Linked DNA regions of Homo sapiens: regions 1, 2, 4 and 5 are each linked to region 3. Evidence: promoter capture Hi-C in human tissues and cell types (Jung and others, 2019). All regions are on one chromosome and are shown on one strand. The core of a region is centred on a gene start or on the middle of the fragment in contact, and the rest is flanking DNA. Distances in the headings are between cores, read along the strand shown.

Region 1 (5,435 bases), core at 2,511-5,010, 1.4 Mb after region 3:
CATTTAACAGCCATCATAGTTTACCTGGCAGCATATTTTCCTTCCTCAGTGGGACATTTTCTTTCTTAGTGGTACATAAATTAATGGGGGATCTTACAATTGACAGTCTTTGATTCAATGAAATAGGTTAGCTGAACTGTATATAATCAATCCATTTTGGATGTTGGCAGCAGATCCTCTTGATGTCCCCTTGTCATATTCCCTCCACCCACCTCTGATTTCAGCCATTGCCATGGCGGGGAGTTCAGAGTAGGGTGGCCTCAAGCTGACAGCTCCCACTAAAGACAGCATAAGTGTCTCTTTTGTCCCCAGAGCCTTCTTTGAAGCTGGGTGGCATCAACTCAGCCTGAAGGCAAGAGTGACCCAGAAAGGCGGAAGTACAAATGGCCCAGTGCACAACCTCAAGCAGAGGGGTACAGGGATGGCTGTGTAAATGCTCTAACTATAACACACTCTGTTATTATTGACTTTCTCCTTCCCTGCCTCTCTCCCCGCTCCCTCAGCGCTGCTTCCTAAGATCACCTCCCAAATAAATTATTTGCACCCAACTCCTTGCTTCAGGCTCTGCTTTCATGGGCCCCAAACTAAGCCCAGGCCTTATGGACTATTTCAACAGTCTCCAATTTATCAATACTTCATGCTTCAAAAATATGTTTATAAGTCAACAGCTTGGAATTTGCAATCCATTGTTTTCCCCACAGAAATGCTATTATAAATGATTAGATTCATAAGCCAGGTCATAAAAAGTATTCATAACAGCATGGAGTGCCAGCACAAAAGCTCCTAAGAAAACATGTCATTTTGCCACACTGCCTTTCTTTACCAGAATAAACATTAGTAATGCAATTAAGGCTCCAGGAACAAATATCCATCCACGTTGACATGTGCATACAAAAATACACACAAACACACACACACACATATTGGTGAAAGCAGATCTCTAGAGAATCGAAATGCCTGTATCAATATTCATTTAAGTCCTTATAACTAGGGCTTACAACTTGAAATCCAAGAAATATAGAAAGAGTTAAACTCATCAAAGGTCTCAAAAGGGAAAAACAGAAACTATTTAGTTCAATACACAAAACATGTAGGCCGGGCGCGGTGGCTCACGCCTGTAATCCCAGCACTTTGGGAGGCCGAGGCGGGCGGATCACGAGGTCAGGAGATCGAAACCATCCTGGCTAACATGGTGAAACCCCGTCTCTACTAAAAATACAAAAAATTAGCCAGGCGCGGTGGCGGGTGCCTGTAGTCCCAGCTACTTGGGCGGCTGAGGCAGGAGAATGGCACGAACCCAAGAGGCGAAGCTTGCAGTGAGCGGAGATCGTGCCACTGCACTCCAGCCTGGGCAACAGAGTGAGACTCCGTCTCAAAAAACAAAACAAAACAAAACAAAAACATGTAAAATTTCTTAGCCAAAGATGTTAAGGGTGAAATGAAAGAAAGAGGGTCATTCAGAACAAATTAGTGCAGAATTAAAGTGGTTATGTAATTTGGAACTCAAGTCACCACAGAGGACTGTTTAAAGTCAATGCTCAACAGTTAGAAGTCTGTTACAAAATCAGAGGAGACTGAACTTGAGTTGAAAAAAAAAATTAAGCTTCATATTTTATATAAAGCTAAGCCTTAAATCTGAATGAATGGATTAAAGTTGCATTTATATGATATTGTGTCAAAGCCCCATTAAATGATCATTTAATATTCAAAACAACGATCTCCCTCCCCACCACCAGCCCCAACAAAAAGAAAGAATCTCCCAAATCAAATTATTGATTGTAGCATCAAGAGGATGGAAAGTAGGAGAAAAGAAACGAAGAAATTTGAGATTATGGAATCAGACTGAAAGAAATCAATCAAAATCTTATCTAAAAATATTTGCTAGTGGCCTAATGTAAGTGGATCCTTAAGTGGGGTTTTTTCAAATTTCTTAAAAATAAAAATGCCTTTAAGTAAAAGCAACTCCTTGCTCAAGTAAAAAGTAAATCAAAATCACTTTTTCAATTATGCAGAATTTATATGTAACTTCATATTCCTTCTGGTAAAAAGAAAGGGGAAAAATGAAAAAGGTGAACCGAAAAATAAATCACTGAATGTTATTAAATATATACATCAAATCCATGACTACAGATGTGGGCACAAAAAATAAAAACACTTTTAGATCCAGGAAAGAAATCTGGTTTACAAAAGCCAGAAGACTATTAGTATTTATGACTTAAACTTAATTATTGTGCATATACACAAATCCCTTCCCCCTACCCACACACACAGGATTTTCTTCCCCCAAGTTCCCCAATTTAATGGTAAAGACGTAAGCTTTGAGCTTAAAACAAGAAATATTCTTTCATTTTGTTCTTCCATGTAAGGGCTGACAAACACACCACGGGGGAGAAACCTGTATTAATGATCCTCATAGCTTGCAAGAAAAACTATTAATTTCAGTCTAAACAAACACAAACAGGGACAAAACATTCTAGACATAAACCTGCTGCAGAAGCTCTCCAAAATCACAACACCCACGGTACATCTTTCAGCTCAAATGAATAAACACTTCCAGTGAGACCTCAAATGTTTTCTTTTTTTTAAAACATAAAAAGGAATCATTTTATTCCAACATGAATGAGACTGTAGAGAGCTCTAGTACTGTTGACAGCAACACTTCTTGGGGATATTATTAACTGGATTATAACATCTAATAACTAAAAGGAAGAACACGAATGAATGTAGAGGGGCCTCCCCACCGGCCATTCTTTCAAGCTTCAAAAAAGGAGCTCAGACTTTGAGTAAAGTCTTAGTCTTGGAATGCAATAGGCAGGAGGCACTTGAACTACCCAGACACTGAAATGATGCACAAAATTCTGCTCAATAGGCTGATATTTCATGTGGGTTAGGATCTGTAATCTAAACAGAATTAAGAAAAAAAATTAAGAAGCTAAGCACAACATAAATAGTCCAACTTTTTATTTTAAGGACAGAGAAACTGAGGCCCACAAGGCTCAAGTTTTGCCCAATGTCATGTAATCACTAATCATATACCGGTTATCTAGGTCTCCTGACATTCAATACAATGCCCTGTAGCAAACCGAAACCTCAGAAACCTCAGAAGGTATGGTCTAATCTAACATGTCTAAAATATTATTTGTAATACCCTTAAAGAATATCCTGAAATTGGATGAAATTTTAGATGTTGCTCTATAAATATGGAAAGATGCTCATATGAGCCACCTTTGGAGACTAGGTACTCAAATTTATCATGTATCTCAATACGGTTCATGCCAGGCATATGTATATTCACATGCAAAATCCTGCAACATTCTTAACTGTGCATTACATCAACTCTATAGAGATTATGGTAAGGTTATTTCCAGGATTCTAGGCCTGCCCTACCAATATGCAAACCATCAGCTGAATCTATAAACAAGAGTACCATCAAGGTTCCCAGATTTAAAATATTTCCCTACCCAATTCCCTATCAACCCCGCTTCCCCTCCCCAATCTCATTTAAAATAACTCTGGGATGGCCAATGCCTGTAATCTCAGCACTTTAGGGGGCAGAGGTGGTAGGATCCCTGGAGCCCAGGAGTTCAAGACCAGCCTGGGCAACACAGCAAGACACTGTCTCTACAAAAAAATCTAAAAATTAGCCAGGCATGGTGGTGCATGCTTGTAGTCCCACCTACTTGAGAGACTAGGATAGGAGGGTCACTTGAGCCTAGGATTTCAAGGTTGCAGTGAGCCATGATCACACCACTGTGCTCCAGCCTGGACGACAGAGTGAGACCCCGTCTCTAAAAGGTAAATAAATACATACTCTGGGCTTTTGCTAATAATACTATCTTAAAAGATTAAAGCCTTCACTTAAGTAGTTTTGCTTCATCACTTTAATTATTCTGGCAACCCATCTATAGTTCAATTCTCAATATGCCATCATTTGTCAGCTCTGCCAAGGAGTAAGCCCCATCTTTCCTAACCAAGCAACTCTTCCCTGGGGTTTCTTTCAAAAAAAATTATACCAGCAGGTTCTAATTTCCTATCCCTGCCAGAAAGGCTGCTCAGAAGTTGAGTTTAAATGTGTCTTATTAAAGTATTGTGTTAAAAAAAAAAGTATTACGTATCTGCTGAATTGTAATCAGACTTGAATAATCATCTTAAATAAAAGTTTATTAATTGAACATTCATTATTACTCTCAGTATGAAAACTAAATAGATCATCAGAAAAAGAATTAGGCACATTAGGAAGCAGTCAGATTGTATCAGTGATCAAACAGTTCAGACAGGGAAGGAAGCTTACTCTAAACAGAAGCTGCAGATTTGTATCCACTACCTATTTCAGATCCTGGTACAGTAGGTGCCCAGTAAACGCTGAACAAATGAATGAAAATAGAACTCCAAGTCACTTAGATCAAGGCACAACTGGAGCTCCATTTAATAAATGGTCAATGCCTGACTCTCCATTAAATGTTCAACGGCATGAACTAGAAGCAGGCAGCATGTATCCCAGGAATAGCTTTTGCTACAAAATGTGAGACAAAACAGCTCATGAAGAAAATAATCCTTATGGTAATCATCACAATGATGATCAACAGTCTGGAACACTTTCTCAATCACCAGATGAACCTTAGAACAAACTGAGAGAAAGGGGTCTGGGTACACTGGAAGTGGCAGCTCCAAACAGGCCCTGTGAAGCTCTTCATCCAAGACCTTCCTTCCTCTTTCATGATATTCCACTCTTCTACTTTCTCCCAAAACTATCTTTTTCATGCAGGCAAACAAAGTAGCAATAATGTCCAAACACAGAATCACTCAAGCCAAAGTACTCTCCTGAGCACCAGGAATCATCTGGCTGTGCTGAAAAGTCTGTCCAAACACTTTGGATTAATTTTTTTTCTTTTTGCATATTAAGGTATTTTTAGACGTGAAGTTATTTATTCTCTGCACCAAGAGAGGCTTACTTTTTAATCCTTTCTCCATAAGGATGTCAAAATCTTTCAGTCCCAAGGTAAGGTATCAGACCAAAATAGCTTTAAAAGTTCTATATAATTAAGAATGTTGTTATAGCTACTCTTATGCCAAGAATCATCTACACTGCTTCAATTCATATAATCATATCCACGAGAGACCCAGTTAACCTTGGCATTTCTGCTGCAAACAAAGTGTTTAGACAAACAGCACTCTCTCTATCCCAACCATGTTACTCAGTGCTGCCTGGTCAATTCTCACACAAATCAGAAAAAAAAAAGGTGTGGGGACAGAGGGGGCCAAGATGTAAAAAGGCAAGTCTGCAATCCTCCTGACCCCATCTCCTACAAATAAACTTAGGTTCTTCCAACAGTACGTTGAAAAGAATTAAAGATGTGGACCCTAAACAAACAAAAAGTCGTTTTGCATTGACCCTCTCTTTAATTTCAAACCTGGAAATTTTTAGCAGGAATATG
Region 2 (4,810 bases), core at 474-2,973, 1.2 Mb after region 3:
GTGTCTCATCTATTTTACCACAATAACAAATAGATAAGACATAGGAAAAACGGGTTCAATCTTAGTACTGGTTAAGGAAATTCAAATTATAAAAATGTCTCACACGTGATAAAAATACATTGATGACAACCACAAAGCTGCCGAGAGACTCCATTTCCAGGAAGGAACAGGAAACAGGGACCCTGGAGCCTGCAGGGCTGGGGTTCGGATCTCAGCTCTGCCCTCCCACTGGGCAAGCTCGAGTGAAGGGCCACCTCTGCACCTAGGTTTTCTCGTGCATGAACTGTTGGTAACAGGGCCCCCTCCTCATGGGGTTCCGTCAGGGTTTAGATGACATGCATGCAGTGAGCCATTAGGGTGTGCCGAGCACAGAGTTAAATGCCACACAAACACTAGCTGGCTCCGCCCACCTTCCCGTGTCCCTCTATGAGGCTCACAAAACAAAGCCACAGTGTGTGCCCTGCATGGGAATTATGGGGCACTGAATTGAATCAGAGGTACGTTTCCACATCACTCCCTTCTTAAAAGCCTTCAATGGCTATATCCCATGTCCAGTGCGTTCCCAGGCTGAGGCCCCATGTGATCTGCCCTGCCCCCTGTTGACTTTATCTTCCAGCCTTCTTACTACTCCTTAAAAATGCCAGGTGTGTGCCTACCCCGAGGCGTTGGCACACATTCCCTGATGGCCACATTTCACTGACTCATTGGTCACCTCCTCGGGGAAGCATTCCCTGCACCCCCATCATGCTATCACACCCTAAGATCACTTCTCTGGAGAGCACATTTCCACAGGATATTTTTCTAGCTCATTCATTTATCTGCTCATGGCCTGCCTCCTCCATCAAGAATATAAACCCCACAGAGGTGGTGAGTGTGCTCTCCTGTTGACTGCATATCTCAGGGCCAGGATCAATGCCTAGTACGTAGGAAGAGCTCAGGAAATATTTTTGGAATAAATGAGTAAATAAAACTTGTGAGGTTTTTTCCTCTATTGGTTGAATGAATGTGTACATATGTATTTGTGCATCCACGTGTGAAAGACAGAAGACACGGAAGATGGGGGAAATGGAGGATCTGCAGCTTGGATCAAAAAATGGTGCATAGCAGATGCGATCTTCCTAAGGGATTGCATGTCTTGGTCCCATAGGCAAAGACTTTAAAGATAAAAGCCATTGTAACCACCGGTCAGAACATACATTCAACTGTTCCCTTTCCAATGGTCTCTTCCTTCTATTGCTCAAAATTCTAGCAGATTCTTGAACGTCTGTCTGTGCCCTCACAACTAAGGCATGGGCTCCTCCCAGCTAGACGCACGTCAGACACATCACCGCCTGGTGACGACCCCACAACTGCCGCCTTTAGGAGTCTGATGTGACTCTGCTGGATTGGAAATCACAGCCCTCCTACCCGCCCTAAACAGAATCCACTGAACACTGGACACTGCTCCTAGCCAGTGTGAAATTGTTTGAAAAGAAAAAGCTCAGCCTAGACTACTCAAGACTCCACTGCTTAAAATGCCCACCTCCCTCCAGAACCCCCACCTCAAACACCAAAAGAGAGGGGCAGCCATCTACGCAGGTGGGCAGGCAACTGCCTGCTGTATCCGATGACAGGGCAGTCCTGAGACGCTTGCTGAGTCGCTGCCTTCAAAAGGTCTCTGTGGGGCGGACCCACCACAGCGCAGGAACAGAAGCTCGCCCAGGGACGGAGACTGTCTCCAAGGCTAGGATTCGGGTGACCAGAAACGTGTCACACAGCCACAGCTCATGCAGGCCACTGGGAATCCTTCCCTGGGCAACCAAGGCAGGGCTGCCGGAAACTGCAGGCATCATCCACCTAGCAGCAAACACTTCCACCCAAGTCACTGGGATTCTGTTTCCCAGGACAGTGCTGCCACCTTTTGGAAACCAAATGCTGGAAATATTTAATCATCTTCAGTTAGGAGAGGCCCCACAGGGACAGCGGGGAAGCTACACATCAGGGAAAATGGATTTTTCGTTTGACTCTCTGAAAAGCAATCTCGGGAGGGAATTCTTCCCCATCTCCTCCCTCAGTCAATTCCACCAAGCCCCAAGCAGCCCCAGGGGGAGAGCTGGTGTCCCCTGGGGACGGTGTTCTCAGGTGCAGACCCAGAACAGTTCAAGGTCACCAGACCCTGGCTCTGGCCCTCCTCAGAACAGAAATCACCATGCAACAGGGCTCCCCTGTGCCCGCCTAGTGCAGAAACCAGCCAAATTTCAATGCAATTTGTTTACTGTATAACCTTATATATTTTATTATAAGCATTTAAAGAGGCCCATGGGTTTCTTCAACTGCTAATAGAGTTCATGAAACAAAACATTTAAAACTCTCAGTTGAGGGTTTCAGAAGAGTTTAAAAAAAAAGAGCCTAGAGAGGTTGATGGTAGTAACCAAAGTCACACAGCTGTGAAGCCCAGGTCTTTTACAATGGCCCACATGGCCATAGCACCCATAGCTGCTGTCTCCCTCTTCTGGGTGAGGGCACCCTTGGGCTGTACTAGGAATTGAATCTTCATCTCTATTAACTCTTGTATTGCTATGTTCATTTCTATATGTAAATATCTTGCCTATGTAACCAGACCAGTAGATGGAGGCTGGAAAAGCAAGTTATACCCAAGTCCTCTGGGAATCCTTATCAGAATATCCATGCCTGCCTGTTCTCCCCAAGCCCATCTCACTCTCCTCGTGGCTGCCGCCCTGTGCCATTTGACAGTTCTTCCCCAACTTGTCCTGATTTCTTTCCTCTCGGGCCCTGTGAGAGCCACTGAGCAACACAGACAGAATGGCTTTAGAGACACAGAAAACTATTAGTAGTGGTCGCCTCTTGGGTGGGGAACCAGATGGCGGGGAGGGGCTTTTCACCTTTTCTCTTTTGACCTTTTGACATTTAAACCATGTGAATAGATTGCCCAGTTCCAAAAAAAAAAAAAAGTATTTTAAAAAAAGGCCTTCTGGACAGACTGTAAGCTCCTGGAGGACAAAGTACTTGCTCTTTTTATTGGTGCCTAGCCCTGTGCTATCCACCCAGCTGGGGGATAAAATGAATGGTTTATCACATAAACCCGGGCAGGACTGGAATGAGACCCTCTCCCCAAGTCCAGCCAGGAGCCAATGCCCAAAGACAGGGAAAATGGAGCAGAAGCTCTTCCAGGAGAAAATGAACAAGCAGAGGTTCTTCATCCGCTTCACACATCTAAGGGCAGGCTCCTTGTTCTTCCTGGCGGGGGCGGCAACGTGAAAGCAAGAACAGGAGGCCACTGAGGCAGAGGCGTATATCCTCAACAGAAAGGGCCAGCCCCAAAGGAGCAAGTCTGGAGGCAGGGGAAGGGGGTGCATACTCAGTCGAGAAGAACTCCCTCTCCTCACTCAGGGGCTTGGCTCAACTCCGCCCACCCAGTTCTACTGTGAGGTTGCCCTTCTGCGCGTACCTGGCAGGTCGATATAACACAAAGACCTGGAGTCATCCCGGAATCGGTTCCCTGCTCCAATGTGGTTTAATGTTTGTCCCTTCTAAGTTTCATGTTGAAATGTGATCCCCAGTGCTAGAGGTGGGCCCTGGTGGGAGGTGTCTGGGTCACGGGGGTGGATCCCTCATGAAAGGCTTGGTGCCCGCCTTGCAGTAATGAGTGAGTTTACACTCTGAGTTCACACTGGTTAAGAGTGTGGTACCTTCCCCCTCACTCTCTCTTGTTCCTCTTTCTTGCTCCTGTTCTTGCCATGTGACATGTTTGCTCCTCTTTCACCTTTTTCCATGACTGGAAGCTTCTGGAGGCCTCACCAAGAGCAGATGCTGGCACCATGCTTCCTGTACAGCCTGCAGAGCCATGAGCCAATTAAACCTCTCTTCTGTATAAATTACCCAGTCTCAGGTATTTCCTTATAATAATGCAAACAGACTAACTCAATCTCCTCCTAGCTGAGCTACTGCTCCAGTCCTGAAGCTTAGTTTGCACATCTGTAAACTGAGAATTTGCTATGAGGGTTACGTTCAGTGAGATCTTGCATTAAATGACCCACACTCTACCCAGCAGATGGCAGGGGCTCTGTAAATGTTTTTTTCCTTCCACTATTGGCAGGGAAGGCAAGTCAAGACCCCTTTCCAGGGTGGTCAAAGAAATGGCCAGAATTTTCAGGATGCTTTATAAGGGAGCCCTCAGCCAGGTGTAGGAGGACGAGCCGCAGACAAAACTCCTCAGATACCAAGTTAAACAAGGAAGGGGTTTATTCGGCCGGGAGCGTCGGCAAGACTCCTGTCTCAAGAGCCAAGCTCTTGAGTGAGCAATTCCTGTCCCGTTTAAGGGCTCACAACTCTAAGGGGGTGCGCATGAGAGGGTCGTGATCGATTGAGCAAGCAGTGGGTACGTGACTGGGGGCTGCATGCTCTGCTAATCAGATTGGAACAAAATAGGATGGGGATTTTCACAGTGCTTTTCTATACAGTGTCTGTAATGTATAGATAACATAACTGATTAGGTCAGGGGTCAATCTTTAACGACCAGGCCCAGGGTGTGACGCCGGGCTGTCTGCTTGTGGATTTCATTTCTGCCTTTTAGTTTTTACTTTTTCTTTCTTTGGAGGCAGAAATTGGGCATAAGACAATATGAGGGGTGGTCCCCTCCCTTAAGGAAGTGGACCCTCAAAGCAATTAAGAGCATGGCTCCATGGACACAGGACAGGAGTTGGATACAAGACGCGGATACATTCAAGACAGCAGCTACATGATACAGGACGAGAGATGGCTGGAAAAGGAGACCAGGCAGGAGCTGCTGGGAGGCGGCAGGCAGAGATGG
Region 3 (5,489 bases), core at 2,199-4,698:
AGGCCTGGGTTTTGATAGTCATCATCCCTATCATTCTCAGATTTCAGAAAAGGACCCTCCCCCTATTTCTTCTATTTTTAACAAAAAATCTATACACACAAATCTTTTAATTCCAAATTGATACAGATAAATTTGTTTGCCTTTTTTTTTTTCGAGACAGAGTCTTGCTCTGTCGCCCAGGCTGGAGTGCAGTGATGCGATCTCGGCTCACTGCAACCTCTGCCTCCCGGGTTTAAGCAATTCTCCCACCTCAGCCTCCTAAGTAGCTAGGATTACAGGCATGTGCCACCCCGCAGGGCCTGTAGGAGTCTCTCAAAAATACTCCAGCTACTCAAGAAGCCAGAAGAAATCCTGAAAAGGAGGCAATAAGAAGCGGTATTTTTCCTCTTCAACTGTAGAAAACATAAATAACTCTGGAATTACAAGATAGGTCCCTAACAATAAAGAATCATTAACCTCCATGATCAACACTGGGATGCTGTATGAAAATTGCACATTTTTATAAAGTACAGTTCTTAAAATTTTAGGGGTAGAGGTGTAAAATGTTAAGAAAAGATTTCCATTCCCCTTAATTTCTATGAAGGGCATTAACATTTTTTGAGCTCAAAATCCGAATTTTAGTTGAAGCTGTATTGAGGCAAACAACTCATTACTTTTATCAAGACATGCAAAGCCACCGCTTAAGTGCTACCTTCACTCCCAGCTCCAAAGGACATCTCCACTTAAAATTGCTTTTATGGACCTACGTATTTACTTATTTTTGAGACAAGAGTCTCATTCTGTTGCCTAGACTGGAGTGTCGTGGCGCAATTCCGCCTCCCAGGTTCAAGTAATTCTCCTGCCTCAGCCTCCTAAGTAGCTGTGATCACAGGCGCACGCCACCACGCCCGGCTAATTTTGTATTTTTAGTAGAGACAGGGTTTCACCACGTTGGGCAGGCTAGTCTCGAACTCCTAACCTCAAGTAATCCACCCGCCTCAGCCTCCCAAAAATTGTTGGATTACAGGCGTGAGCCACTGCGCCCGGCCAGAAACGATTTTAAAAAGGGCATCTCCAGACAAGCTTCTCGCATTGTTCTAATTCTTTAACCAATTACAAATAAAGACAATTATCTCATCCTATAAAAACTAAAAGACGAAAAATAAAAAGATACAACAGGTGAGCCTACAAGCACTAGTTGATTTACACTAAAATACACTTGGGTACCACTTGTGAAAAAAATATTTCCTATGACCACAAAGGGCCGTAAGAGGGCCCTTTATTTCTATTAAATAAATCTTTAATGCCTACATATACTTTAGCTTAAAAGTGGGTGGGAATCTTTTTTTTTTTTTTTGAGACGGGAGTCTCACTGTCACCCAGGCTGGTAGGTGGGAATCTTAACATGTTACTTTCTTAGGAGGGAAAAGTGACAATTGTCGGCAACTTACTCCTTTCCTAGACTTGATGATAAATTAAAAAAAGAAAAAAAGCAAGCAAACAAGGTCCCTCCAGTAGTCCTCTTCACTCCCCACAAACCAAACCAAACATCAATCCCCCAATTTTTTAACAATGAAAGTTAATTGAAGGAATGTATGAATGGACAGCAAAATTTCTATCGATAATTACTCAACATTTTCAAAACAAGAAGCATTTTACAACTACTATCATATATGTTTATCGCATGATTTTAGAAAGTTCTGTTGGGGCCATCAATACACCATCCTAAAAAATAAGCAGGTTCAATTTTCATTTGTTTCCATGCTCCAAACTTTGTAAAAAAAAATTCCAATCAAAAGAATTAAAGGCAAATTTTTTAGTCTACCGGGTAACTATTATAGTCTATTGCTTTAAATCTTTCCTCAAAGAGAACTAAAGCCTAAACTGACCTTCTGATTTGACTTTTTGGTTCTAGATGTTTATATCATGAACTCCCCAAAAGGACAAAATTCGCCCTTCAGCACACACACCTCAGGTGTTTTTATGTGCTTCCCCTAGTGACTAGAATAAACATCTACACAACAGCCCGGAACGTGTTGCATGGGGCTTTTGTTTTCTTTCCAGGGTTTCACACGAACTCACTTCTACTAACTCACTTCTACAATTCCCTATGTAGGGTAAACTTTGGAAATGAAACTCACTGACAAACGTTCCAGTACATTTAAGCTGGGGATATCGTATTCTTTGTGATGTTTGTATTTCTCCGACCCCAAATATATTAATAAAAACTTTTTTCTGAGCCCTCTTCGGTGGGGGATAGAGTGAGAAGAGAAATGGGAGAGGGCCTGTTAATTTTCAGGTCATCTTTTAAGTTACAGAACAGTATATACTGACTAGTTATCTTAAAAATACTGAGCCAATGAATTCGTTCAGCTATGTAAGATTAAAGAAAGACAGATTTTTTTTTTTTTACCGTAAAAACCTGTAAAGGAGTGGTCAGTTTTTAGATGAAAGGTCATAGGAAGAAGAGCATTAAAAGTTGAGATATAAAGAAGAGAAAAAACCCAACATCGAGGAATTAGAAAAATAAGGCGTGACAGCATTTCCACATTCATTTCGAAGTGAAAGGAAAGTCGAAGGGACATTAAGGGAAAAGGGCTCCTTGCGTAGTTTCCCCTCACAGCTCTCGTCTTAAGAACGCTTAAGGGTCGGTGCGGTCGTTGACTAACCACTTCATTAGGCTCGTCCCACCTTCAACCTCAAGGCTTTCGCCTTTTTAGACGCAACGCCGCCGGTTCCAACAGAGACGCGGCCGCTCACTGAAATAGAGAGCCAAGGAGACACAGGCCCCAGCTAGTCCCACGCCAGCTTCTCCCCGCCCGGAAAGCAGCCCCGCGCACTTTCGATCCCGAGACCCTCTACGATGCTCGGGGTCGCCAGAAATGCCACCGCAGGAAGCACCTACCACTATCCGGACGGAGGGGAGCTCCCTGCCGCCTCCTCCCGCCCAACCGCGACGGGGACCCACACCTCGGAGCAGACATAAGGAAGCCTCAGGGGTGGGGAGAAGGGAGGAAGCAATGCGGGGGCGGGGAGGGAAGAGGACCCAGAAGTCCAGGTATCAGTCAGCCTCCAAAAAAGGGGGAGGGGTGTTATCCGTGGTGTTTGGGGAAGGAGTGGAACCCAGAAGCCATCTTGGGATGGGAGGAATCAATCGCGATGGCTCCAGAGGTTGCTCCTCGCGGGACTACCCGCAACCCCGCCCGACCGCGCTTGTTCCCGTGAAACCCCGAGCATTGGGCCGCCGCCTAGACGGCTCCCGCGGCTTTGTACTCACTCTGCCCTCGAAGTTGTTTTCCTCCACATCACTCATGTCGACGAGGCGCTCCCCAGAACTAAATAAGAGACAAGTCTCGGCTCGAGGGCCGATGGCCTAATTAACCCGCTGACTGGACCGTGGGGAAGAGGAAAGAGTCGGCAACCACAGCCGCTCCACTCCACTCCCACTCGGTCGCAGGCTCCAGCAAAATGGCGCCGGCGCCGCCAGAAATCTCCTGGCCTCCTCAGAGCACGACGTAAAGGGGGCGGGCGTCTCTGTGACGTCACGAGGCTCCACCTCCCGCGAGGCTTTGTGTCGGCTGGGCCTGGAGCGAGGGTGGAGGTTGGCGGGCGGCCTGCGCTCTCAACCTGGGCGCCTTGGAATCGCGGTCCCGTGCTGTCCTCCAAACTTCAGACTCACCTCGGACGCGTCAACCTCTTTGAAGACTTTTCAGTCGCCAGATGAGCCTTATATGACCTTAGCCCCTTTAAATATTGTCCAAGTGGATTCTGATGTAAGGGAACAAAACATTGGAAGCGTTTTTTTATGTTTGTTTATTTTTTGAGTCAGGGTCTCGCTCTGTCACCCAAGCTGAAGTGCAGTGAAGCGATCACTGCTCACCACAGCCTCAAACTCCCGGGCTCAGACGATCCTCCCACCTCAGGCTCCCGCGCGCGCCACCACGCCCGGCTAATTTTTTTCTTTTTTGGGACGGAGTCTCACTCTGTTGCCCAGGCTGAAGTGCAGTGGCGCTATCTAGGTTCATTGCAACCTCCACCTCGCAGGTTCAAGCAATTCTCCTGCCTCAGCCTCCCCAGTAGCTGGGATTACAGGCATGCACCACCACGCCCGGCTAATTTTTGTATTTTTAGCAGAGACGGGGGTTTCACCATGTTGGACAGGCTGGTCTCAAACTCCTGACCTCAGGTGATTTGCCCGCCTGGGCCTCTCAAAGTGCTGAGATTGCAAGGGTGAACCACCGTACCCGGCCCACCCGGCTAATTTTTGTGTGTTTTGCAGAGATGGGGTTTTGACATGCTGCCCAGGCTGGTCTCGAATTTGTGGACTCAAGCGATCTGCTCGCCTCGGCCTCCCAAAGTGCTGAGATTACAGGCCTGAGCCACCGCGCCCGGCTGGAATCGTGTATATATAACAGGCTTTTGGGGGGCACGTTGTCAGCTGACTGTATTACTTTTCTTCCATATTTGCCCTGTGTAATGTCGACGTAGTACATGCACAGATGAGGTTATGATGCAAAGCCGCTGCTCCTTGCCTCGTGTCCCTGCTCCAGTTCCCCCTCCTAGAGACAGCCGTGTAGTTTTTTTTTTATAATGCTTAGCTCCCTACTAGTTTTTTTGACTTAGATATTTCCATAAAGCTTCACAGTGAAGACCTCCCAAATCTGTCAACTTGGTTCCCAATCATAGTAATAATCTCTGAGATGAGTTTTACTTGTGTAATGCAACTTTAAAAATTAGTTTCATCTTAAATTTTTTTCCTACAGTGCTTTGTAGTAAAAAGATTGACATAGACTTTCAACTATAGTTCTATGGTAGGAAAGTTCATCTGGCATTATTATGAAGATTGCTACCACTGGGGGCAAGATTTCAGCATTTGAATGTCAGTTATTGATAGGGATAAACTTAAATGACATCTGGCTCTTAGAAAAGATGTTGAACTTGGCTGGGTGTGGTGGCTGACGCCTGTAATCCCAGTACTTTGGAGACCCTAGGCGGAAGATCGCTTGAGGCCAGAAGTTCGAAACCAGCCTGGTCAACATGGTGAGCCCCCATCTCTACAAAAGAAATTATTATTATTATTATTGAGACGGAGACTTGCTCTGTCACCCAGGCTGGAGTGCAGTGGCGCGATCTCGGCTCACTGCAACCTCCACCTCCGGGTTCAAGTGATTCTCCTGGCTCAGCTTCCCGAGTAGCTGGGATTACAGTGCGTGCCACCACACCCGGCTAATTTTTGTATTTTTCGTAGAGATGGGGTTTCACCATGTTGGCCAGCGTGGGCTGGAACTTGTGACTTCAGATGATCTGCCCGCCTCAGCCTCCCAAAGTGCTGGGATTACAGACGTGAGCTGCCACGCCCAGCCAGGTTGATACCATTTGAACCACTGATCAATCTTAGTACCATTAAAAGTGAGATAACCAGATACGAGATACCTCATGATGTGATGCAATAGAAAATACCCAGTTCCTCCTGTGAAGTATTCCTGATCCCTCAAATTGAACTCAAATCT
Region 4 (5,446 bases), core at 722-3,221, 1.2 Mb after region 3:
AAAAAAAGAAAACTACAAGCAGTGATGCAAAAATCCTCAACAAAATACTAACAAAATGAATTCCACAATACATTAAAAAGATAATTTATCATGACCAAGTGAGATGTATCCCAGGGATGGAAGGATGGTTCAACATATGCAAATCAATCAGTGTGACACATTATATCAACAAAATGAAGAACAAAAACCATTTGATTATTTCAACTGATGCTGAAAAAGCATCTGATAAAATTCAACATCCCTTCAAGATAAAAAACTGCACATAGAAGGAACATAGTTCCACAATAAAAGCCATATATGATAGACCAACCAGCTAGTATCATACTGAAATGGAGAAAAACTGAAAGCCTTTCCTCTAGGATCTGGAACACAACAAGGATGCCCACTTTCACCACTGTTATTCACCATAGTACTCGAAGTCCTAGCTAGGGCAATCAGACAAGAGAAAGAATAAAGGCATTCAAATTGGAAAGGAAGAAGTCAAATGATCCTTGTTTGCAGAAAACATGATCTTATATTTGGAAAAACTTAAAGACTCCACCAAAAAACTATTAAAGCCAATAAACAAATTCACTAAAGTTGTAGGATATAAAATCAACATACAAAAATCAGTAGCATGTCTATAGGGCAACAGAGAACAATCTGAAAAAGAAATCAAGGAAATAATCCCATTTACAATAGCTACAAATAAAATTAAATATCTACAAACTAACCAAAGAAGTGAAAAATTTCTACAATGAAAACTATAAAACACTGATGAAAGAAATTGAAGAGGACACAAAAAACATGGAAAGATGTTCCATATTCACAGATCAGAAGAATAAATATTGTTAAAATGTCCATACTACTCAAAGTAATCTATACTTTGTAGAGATTCAATGCAATCCCTACAAAATACCAATGATGTTCTTCACAGCAATAGAAAAAAAACTACCCTAAAATTTATGTGGAACCACAAAAGATGCAGAATAGCCAAAGCTACCTTGAGCAAAAGGAACAAGGCTGGATGAATCACATTACCTGACTTTCAAATTATACTGCAGAGCTATAGTCATTAAAACAGTATGGTAATGGCATATAAACAAAAATACAGACCAATGGAATGGGATGGAGAATCCGGAAACAAATCCATACATTTATGTTGAACTCATTTTCAATAAAGGTGCCAAGAGCATACATTGGGGAAAGGATAGCCTCTTCAATAAATGGTGCTGAGAAAACTGTATATCCCTATGCAGAAGAATGAAACTAGACCCTATCTCTCACCATATACAAAAACCAAATCAAAATGGATTAAACACTTAAATCTAAGACCTCAAACTATGAAACTACTATAAGAAAACACGAGGGAAACTCTCTAGGACATTGAACTGGGCAAAGGTTTCTTGAGTAACATCCCACAGACACGAACCACTAAAGCAAAAATGGACAAATGGAATCATATCAAGTTAAAGACTTCTGCACAGCAATGAAACAACAAAATGAAGAGACAACTCACAGAATGGGATAAAATATTTTTACACTACCCATGTGACAAGAGATTAATAACCAGAATATAAAAGGGGCTCAAACAACTGTAGGGAAAAAAATCTAATAATCCTGTTAAAAATGGGCAAAAGATCTAAATAGACATTTCTCAAAAGACGACATACAAATGTCAGACAGGCATATGAAAATGTGCTCAACATCATTGATCATCAGGGAAATGCAAATCAAAACTACAATGAGTTATCACCTCACCCTGGTTAAAATGGCTTTTATCCAAAAGACAGGCAATAAAAACTGCTGATAAGAATGTGGAAAAAAAGGGAATGCCTGTACACTGTTGGTGGGAATGTAATGCAAATTACTACACTATGAAGAACAGTTTGGAGATTCCTCAAAAAACTAAAAATAGAGCTACCATACTATCCAGCATTCCAACTGCTGGATATGTACCCAAAAGAAAGGAAATCAGTATACTGAGGAGCTATCTGCACTCCTACATTTATTGCAGCACTAGTCACAATAGTCAAAATTTGGAAACAACCTAATCCTCAATAGATGAATAAAGAAAATGTGGTAAATATACACGATAGAGTACTATTTAGTCATTAAAAAAAGAGTAAGATCCTGGGCTGGGCGCAGTGGCTCACGCCCATAATCCTAGCACTTTGGGAGGCTAAGGCAGGCGGATCACGAGGTCAGGAGTTCAAGACCAGCCTGGCCAATATGGTGAAACCCCATCTCTACTAAAAATACAAAAATTAGCCAGGTTTGGTGATGGGTGCCTGTAATCCCAGCTACTCGGGAAGCTGAGGCTGGAGAACTGCTTGACCCTGGGAGGCGGAGGTTGCAGTGAGCCAAGATTATACCACTGCACTCCAGCCTGGGTGACAGAGCAAGACTCCATCTCAAAAAAAAAAAAAGGATAAGATCCTGTCATTTGCAACAACAGGGATGGAACTGGAGGTCATTATGTTAAACAAAATAAACTAGGCACAGAAAGATAAACTTCACATGTTCTTATTTATTTCTTGAACTAAAAATTAAAACAATTGACCTCATGGAGATAGAAAGTAGAGGGATGGTTACCAGAGGCTGGGAAGGGTAGTGGGAGAGTGGTAGGGGGATGCGAGGATAGTTAATGGGTCCAATAAAAATAGAAAGAATGAATAAGATCTAGTATTTTATAACATAACTTTAGGATACCTAAAGAATGAATAAAATCTAGTATGTGATAGCATAACTTTAGGACACCTAAAGCCAATAATAATTGTACATTTTTAAAATAACTAAAACTGTATAATTGGATTGCTTGTAACACAAGGGATAAATGCCTGAGGTGATGGATACCTCATTTTACATGATGTGATTATTATACATTGTATGCCTGTATCAAAACATCTCATGAGATGTATTTTCCCATTAAAAATTCCTCATTAAAAAATGTCATATATCCCATAAATGTATGTATATATATTTACGTAAATATATGTATATATATATTCAGTGTAATTCTGAAACATTTTAATTATGAAGATTTATCATGGTCATGACATTGCTTTAATATACTGGTTTCATATAATTTATTTAATTTGGAATTCCTAATAAAGAACCAAACTTCTCATTACTGTATGTGCATAGAAAAATGTAATCTGCTTTACCAAAATTCCCTTTACAATATGATGAAGAATAAAAGTGGGATATGCCTTTATGGTAACACCCTCCTCAATCCCCAAATAGCCAGGAAAGCACAACGCAGCATGGTCTCTGGAAAACAGCCGGGACCGCGGCCCAGAACTCAGGGGAGGGAGCTGACAGGTGTGCGCGCTCCAGAGTCCACTCACTTCCAGACATTCAGCCAGGAGAAAGCCTTCAGAGATCATCTAGTCCAACTATCTCACCTACAGCTGGGGAAACTGAACCCAAGGGCAGAAACGGCTTACCAAGTCGACCTAAGTTATTGACCAGGAATAAACTTACCAGACCCTAGGAAATTAGAAGCAACAAGCTAGTGGCAGAGGTGGGGTGGGCTGTGGCTTTTATACTTATGGTAGTGACAAATGGCAGCTGACCACGGAAGACAAGGCAGACAAATGAAAAGCGTATTACAGAATAATAATGAAAGCTTATTAAACACAAAAATGAAAGAGCTTATCCGAGTCACTATGAAAAAGACTCAATAAATTTGTTATTCTCCATTTAAAAAAAAAAAAGTATGTGACATATCTTAGAATAGTTTCCATCAAGAATGCTAAGATCTGCACAGAGACTGCATTCAAAGGGGTCAGCTCCAGGTATCCGGAAGGTTAATTTCTGTGGAATGCCTTCCTGCCCAGCACAGGCTTGTTTTTTCAAGGACAAAGTTTGTTTTTGATATGTGCACACATTTCATAGACAATAAAGCTAATATTCTGATTTTTGAGGCCTAAAATAACTTGTCTGCAGATGACAACTTATCTAAATGACCTGAAATAAAAGTGACTGAAAATAAGCCCTCGGGAATGTACAGTCCTTAAGCATCACGAACTGCCACTCCCAAGGCCACGCATGTATCAACAACGCCTTATCAATCCCAATGATGTTATGGGGAGTCCAGAGACAGGCAGACAACGTGGATAAGAATTTATTACTCCAGCATGACGTAACAAGAATGTTAGCTTTACTGAGCTCCATGCCAAGAGCAGAAGTCTTCCCTTCCCGCCCCTGTCCTCCCCTCCCCTATAGTTCACCCTGTCCTCCTAGCCGCCTAACAAGGGTGAGGTGATTCTGTGATAAAACTCCTCTTTGGGTTCTAGTCCTTGTATTTATTCTTTATCATGCTTCTGGTGGCACCACTCCCCAGGGCATCCCTTCCCCCATCACCACTACAAGTAATAGGACTCCCGAGTCCAAGTGATCTCATCCCTGTGTCCAGGCACCTCCAGGAGAGCAGGCCTCGCTATGCACATGTGCCTGCTCAGGATAGTTTCTATTCCATGATTCACCCACCAAGTATCCTCCCTAGGGACGCGGGTTCATGCCTCGGCCTTAACATTCTGTGCTATCATTTTAAGACTTTTACATGATTTAGAGGAAAGAACAGGAGCTTTGGAGCCAGAAAATCCTGAGTTGAATCCCAGCACCAGCATCCAAATTGAGCTCTGTGTCTGGGAATAAGTTATTTCTCCTTCCTGAGCCTTGGTGCCATTAAGTGTAAAAGGAGATGGCTGTGCAGAGTTAAGGAGAGGCTACATATAAAGTGCCTGGCACACAGTAGGTGCTCTGCGGATGCTCCTTTCCTTTCCCTCCCCCACTCCCTCTTCCTCCACTCAGAACTGTTGGCTCTGGCTTCTTTCTCTCCGGAATGTTTTCTCCCATCTCTTCTCAGTGAGCCTCCTCATATGCTTCCTTTTAGCAAGAGCTTTTACACCTGAATCATGGTGTTTAAAAACCTATATCGAGAAATGTGATTATAGGACATTGCCAAACTGTGCTTCTTGAAATAGAAATAACGAGACTGCAAAGCGCATCTAAGCTAGAGAGGGTTGGGTGAGACTGAGGGAGCAGAGAAGACGCTCTGGACACCCCCCGCCTCCCTTTTCCCCTTCCCCAGTGCCACCAGATTTAGCAAATGAAAATGTAAGACACCCAGTTAAATTTTCATTTCAGATAAATATCAAATACATTTCTAGTGTGTCCCAACAATTGCAGTTGAGAAGGAAAATGGGACTCTAGCAAAGATAAGCTGTAGAGAAAGGAAAATAAAGATCATGACTGCCAGAGACAGAGGCAGCTGTCCCTTCTACCTGGTGCTACCAGAGAGAACTTCAAATCATCTGACCAAAAGGGAACCCCTGGTGGAGTCACAGCTTTGTGTGGTCTTGGAGTCCTAGAAAGTGCCCGTAGGCAGTAAACGCACAGCCATGGTCCTTCAGTTCCAGTAAGCATGGGCAGTTACTGAAGAGGGGCTTGGGACTTGAAG
Region 5 (5,462 bases), core at 2,061-4,560, 1.0 Mb after region 3:
CAGAAGCTTTGGCATCTATCTTGGCATCTTGTGGCACCACACACATCCAATTTTAGAGACGCATAAACCAAGACCCAGGGAGGTTAAATAATTTGCCCAAGATCCTTCAGTTAGTAGTGAGAACTAGACATGCGACACAAAGGAGAGGAAATAATTCATTTATTTGCTCACTCCCTAGTGAATCAGCTGACTTATTTATATACACTAGGACCTCCCCTTAAAAGCCTGTACATTCTATGTATCCAATAAATGTGAGTGAAATTAATTATCTGGCATGTTATTTATTTACTCATTTATTCACTCATTCATTCATTCATTCAAATCATCTGTATCTAAATACCTTGCCTTTGCCAGGTATCAATTATATCATCATTTGGATCTTTTTCTCCTTCCAAATAAAATATACTAAACCAAATACATATGTTCATTTCTTGAGAAAGAATTAAAATTCCTATTTGAAATCATATCATTAGCCTGTCTAGTACTATACTCTGCCTCCAACACAATTCTCTAGCTGGGATCTTGTGGGAAAGTTGAATCTCCCCATCCCAAAGCCCACGTAGCCCATTATGCAATGCTTTGCATCACCACGGGGTCCTCAACTGACTGACTACCTCAAGCTGTCAGTTAATGCTCTGCTTCATGATATTTGACTACCCTTCTTAATGGTAGTTTACATAACGGCAAATGTTCCCTGGTAACTGCAAAAGAATTCAGCTATTTTAAAATAGCTCTGTCAACCCCATGAACAACTCGCTGAATTCCATGGTAAGCATATAATAGAATGCTTCTGTTTACCTTTATGTTATTTATAGCATGTGTCCTTTATTACTTTTTTAAAAAAATCTACCTTAACTTTTTAACCTGTTAGTTTTCAGCCCAGTCTAGTTTTGACCTTTCAAAAATCAGATTAGCCTATCTTAGCACATTATCATACATATTCTTGCTTAATTGAACAGTTTTTATTTCAAACATTACTAAATTTTTTTTGTCATTGTAGTATTCCATTCTACATCCTTGTGTGCTTACTATAAGCAAAAAGGTATTATATTTCATCCTGGGTCATATGCATTATATAGAATAGCTTGCTGTATCAAACATAATTTAACACATTCTGAAAAGAATTCTAGATTGGTCAAGATGACAATCCCTACACTTTTATTTTCAATTAACCAGGAGTTCTCAAACTTAAGTGTATATGAGGATCACCTGAAGGATTTGTTAAACCACAGATTGGCAGGTGGAAGCAATCCAGTATCCACTGATGGATGAATGGATAAACAAAATGTGGTGTATATAGACAATGGAATATTCATCAGCCTTAAAAATGAAGGAAATTTGGCCGGGTGCGGTGGCTCACGCCTGTAATCCCAGCACTTTGGGAGGCCAAGACGGGCGGATCACCTGAGGTCGGGAGTTTGAGACCAGCCTGACTAACAGGGAGAAACCCCGTCTCTACTAAAAACACAAAATTATCTGGGTGTGGTGGTGCATGCCTGTAATCCCAGCTACTCTGGAGGCTGAGGCGAGAGAATTGCCTGAACCCAGGAGGCAGAGGTGGCGGTGAGCTGAGATTGTGCCATTGCACTCCAGCCTGGGCAACAAGAGCGAAACTCCATCTCAAAAAAAAAAAAAAAAAAGAAGGAAATTCAACACATGCTAAATGGATAAACCTTGAGTACATTATATTAAGTGAAATAAACCAGCCACAAAAAGACAAATGTTATATGATTCCACTTACATGAGGTACCTTGAGCAGTCAAATTCATGGAAACATACAATAGAATGGTGGCTGCCAGGCACTGGGGGATGTAGAGAATGGGAAATTGCTGTTTAATAGGTACAGAGTTTCAGTTTTGCAAGACAAGAAGAATTCTAGAGATTGGTTGTGCAGCAATGTGAATGTACCTAACACTACTGAACTGTACACCTAGAAACAGTTAAGATTCTCACCATTAAAAAAAAAAGAAAATTAAAAGTGGCTGGGTGCAGTGGCTCATGGCTGTAATCCCAGCACTTTGGGAGGTCAAGGCAGGTGGATCGCTTGGGTCCAGGAGTTTGAGAGCAGCCCGGGCAACATGGTAAAACCCCATCTCTACAAAAAAGTACAAAAATTAGCCAGGTGTGGTGGTGCATGCCTGTAGTCCCAGCTACTGGAGAGGCTGAGGTGCAAGAATCGCTTGAGCCTGGGAGGCAGAGATTGCAGTGAGCTGAGATGGCGCCACTGCACTCCAGCTTGGGTGACAGAGTGAGACCTCATCTCAAACTTAAAAAAAAAAAAAAAGTATGTGAGGTGAATGTGAGGTGATACCTATGTTAATTAGCTTGATTTAGCCATTCCACAATGCATATACTATTTCAAAACAACATGTTGTACATGATAAATATAATTTTACTTGCCAATTAAAAATAAATTTTAAAGTGATTAAGATGGAAAATGTTATGTTCTGAGTATTTTACCACAATTACACCCACATACGCAGATTGCCAGAGTTATTGATATAGTAGGTCTGCGGTAGGGCCTGAGAATTTGCATTCTGGGCCCATAGTCTGAGAACCACTGTGATACGGTTTGGCTGATAAAATCTTGAATTGCAGCTCCCATAATTCTCATGTGTTGTGAGAGGGACCCGGTGGGAGATAATTGAATCATGGGGGCGATTTCCCCATACTGTTCTCATGGTAGTGAATAAGTCTCATGAGATCTCATGTTTTTATAAGGGGTTTCCCCTTTTGCTTGGCTCTCATTCTGTCTTGCCTGCTGCCGTGTAAGACATGCCTTTTGCCCTCCACCGTGATTGTGAGGCCTCCCCAGCCATGTGAAACTGTGAGTCCATTAAGCCTTTTTGTATTTATAAATTTTTCAGTCTCGGGTGTGTCTTTATTAGCAGTGCAAGAACAGACTAATACACGCTGCAGTGAACAAAGTTAGTGATGACTCCAGAATTTCTGTCTAAAAGGAGTTTATGAGTAACAACCTGGTTGGAAGAAGGATGAGGGGATTTGCCTTGCCAGTTAGCATAGCAAGCACAGTGTCTTCAGATTGTATGTTTGTTTGCAGAAGCTTTCATGGGAGACCTGAAGAAATGATGACCAGCTGCACACACCCACAAGTCACTTCTTGATGACACAGCTGTACCTTGCTACTTGCTCAAGGCATCTCATAAATCTTAAGTATAGTGGGGAAAATATGAGAACTTGACATTTTTGCACTTAAGAGATATATTCTCCTTTCTTTTATTTCACAGTTTTTCTTTTAAATTGGAAGAAGAGTAAGTAGGCATTGGGAAAAGAAGATAGGAAAATCTGAAACATAAATAAAATGAAGAGCTAAGTATCGAATACCTACTATAAACAGAACAGATATTTATTGTTTTGTGAAAATCAAGCATGAAGCAATGTGATAACCCCTATCAAATTAAAATTCCTAATGCTCCCCTGGGAGTGGTAGAAGAGCAGTCTCATCAATGCTGCTGAGAGTATATATTACTACAAGCACCCTGGAAGGATTTGGCCATATATGTGAAATATCCATATCCTCTCACTTAGTAATTCCATTTATAGAGATCTATCTTAAAGAAATAAAGTGTAGAATATAAGAATATTTAGATGATATAATGTATACTAGCAAAACATGGAAACACCCTAAATGTTAAGGTGGGCACCAGAGAGAGGCTAGATTAATTTCAGTGTATCCAGACAACAGAATTCGCAGCTATAAAAGACATCTGTTGTTTTAGAGTAGCCCACAACCTTTTGGCAGGGAAAGTGGACCTCAGCTTCCTTTATTCTGCTTGTTTCAGTCGAGAGAACTCCCTATCACCTTCTCTGACACAGAGGAGGTGTTCACAGCTCAGTGAAAGTCAGAGTCCTTTTGTAGGGACAGATGTGGATGCTTGACAAGAGAAGACCTCTTGCCTTGTGAGACTGCAAGCAGGAAGGGCAATGAAAACCTGGCTAACACTGAGGAAAGCAGAGGCCATAGATGGGGAGAAAGAAAGTTTCCTATCAATATTGTTTGAGTCCCTGGATCTCATTATACCTGACTAGCAAGTCTGCCTTTGACTTCCCAGTTATATGAATCAATGAATGCCTCACTTTTTTCCCTCTTAAACTCACAACTAAAACATTCTTAGCTAATACATTGTTATTAAAAACCACATTTTATATGAATGCATATGAATACACATTACATTACTAACTCAATTTTTATATATACACATCTTAAAATGTGTACATATAAAATTTAAGGAACATTAAAATGCTTTATGAGGTTGTAGTTTTATAGATAATCAAATATTTTTACTTTTAAGGATTATTCACTTAGGCCAGGAATGGTGGCTCATGCCTGTAATCCCAGCACTCTGGGAGGCTGAGGCAGGCGGATCACGAGGTCAGGAGTTCGAGAACAGCCTGACCAACATGGTGAAACCCTGTCTCTACTAAAAATACAAAAATTAGCCAAGAGTGATGGTGCACACCTGTAATCCCAGCTACTCAGGAGGCTGAGGCAGAAGAATCGCTTGAACTCAGGAGGCAGAGGTTGCAGTGAGCCAAGATCACACCACTGCACTCCAGTCTGGGCAACAGAGCGAGACTCTGTCTCAAAAAAAAAAAAAAAAGATTATTCACTTAAAAGGTTTGCCAACGTCTTAATTCCCTGGCTATTGAGCATTCTAAGAGAAGAGGGTTATTGCATAAAATATAACCACATATCTTACTGGTCACTTGTAAAAAATAAAAAATGGTACAATGCCTATGGAGGGAAATCTGGCAACACCTAACAAAATTACATATGCATTTGTCTTTGACCCAGCAATGCCAGTTCTAAGGATCTCTCCCACAGATACAGTAGCAAAAATATGAAAAGATGTGTGCATAAGCCTATTAATTGCAGCACATTTATAATAGAAAATGTTTGGAAACAGCCTAAATTTTCATTGATAGGGAACTGATTGAATAAACTCAGGCACATCTATGCAATTGAATACTATGTAGCTGTAGAAAAAAATAAAATCTTACTACACTGTATTATACAGAGATCTCTAGGATATACTAAGTGAAAAAAAATCAGTGTGCATAACAGAAAACAGTATATGGAGAGAATTACCTTTTGTCTAATAAAAGGGCAAAACTAAATAGTAGAAGAATAAATTAAAAACTAGTATACATGATTAGTATAAGGGAAAAACAAAATGAAAGCACGGTGAGATACCTACCAGAAGGGCTAAAATTAGTAAGACATAAATTATCAAGTGTTGTCAAATATGAGGAACAAATGGAACTCTTATACACTGCTGAAAGAAGTGTGCATTGGAACATTCACTTTTGGAAACTCTTTGGCAGTATCTACTAAAGCCTGAACATACACGTACCCCATGACCCAGCAATTCTACTTCTGGGAGTATACCTACGAGAAATGTATACCTTGTGTATCAGAAGACATGTACAAGAAGGTATTA

Evidence for each region. The method cuts DNA at HindIII sites, captures the fragments that hold promoters and counts their contacts. A contact is called where the count stands out against the background at its distance.
Region 1: a contact is called between a fragment that was not itself captured here and the fragment with the promoter of TRA2A in region 3, in 1 of the 25 tissues and cell types used here (lymphoblastoid cells).
Region 2: a fragment that was not itself captured here is called in contact with the fragment with the promoter of TRA2A in region 3 in 1 of the 25 tissues and cell types used here (mesenchymal stem cells).
Region 4: a contact is called between a fragment that was not itself captured here and the fragment with the promoter of TRA2A in region 3, in 1 of the 25 tissues and cell types used here (lymphoblastoid cells).
Region 5: a fragment that was not itself captured here is called in contact with the fragment with the promoter of TRA2A in region 3 in 1 of the 25 tissues and cell types used here (thymus).

Annotation. Positions count from the first base shown.
Region 1 is chr7:24,949,348-24,954,782 of GRCh38, forward strand. All of the region lies in intron 1 of OSBPL3 (oxysterol binding protein like 3), which reads right to left. Among named protein-coding and RNA genes, the nearest start is that of OSBPL3, 28 kb to the right of the region's middle. RefSeq lists an enhancer at 1,259-1,758. The HindIII fragment of the contact is 3,603 bases long and covers 1,960-5,435 here.
Region 2 is chr7:24,721,238-24,726,047 of GRCh38, forward strand. The region is part of intron 3 of GSDME (gasdermin E); the gene reads right to left. Among named protein-coding and RNA genes, the nearest start is that of GSDME, 34 kb to the right of the region's middle. RefSeq lists enhancers at 3,147-3,830, 4,515-4,810. The HindIII fragment of the contact is 4,296 bases long and covers 1-3,871 here.
Region 3 is chr7:23,528,533-23,534,021 of GRCh38, forward strand. TRA2A (transformer 2 alpha homolog) reads right to left here and starts at 3,449. Exons shown (of 8, transcript NM_013293.5): 1 at 3,257-3,449. The coding sequence starts at 3,292. RefSeq lists enhancers at 2,507-3,077, 3,078-3,647, 3,189-3,238, 3,259-3,308, 3,319-3,538 and 3 more. The HindIII fragment of the contact is 6,699 bases long and covers 298-5,489 here.
Region 4 is chr7:24,737,698-24,743,143 of GRCh38, forward strand. All of the region lies in intron 3 of GSDME (gasdermin E), which reads right to left. Among named protein-coding and RNA genes, the nearest start is that of GSDME, 17 kb to the right of the region's middle. RefSeq lists a silencer at 3,893-4,187. The HindIII fragment of the contact is 7,050 bases long and covers 1-5,446 here.
Region 5 is chr7:24,549,582-24,555,043 of GRCh38, forward strand. No RefSeq gene overlaps it. Among named protein-coding and RNA genes, the nearest start is that of PALS2, 21 kb to the right of the region's middle. The HindIII fragment of the contact is 7,513 bases long and covers 1-5,462 here.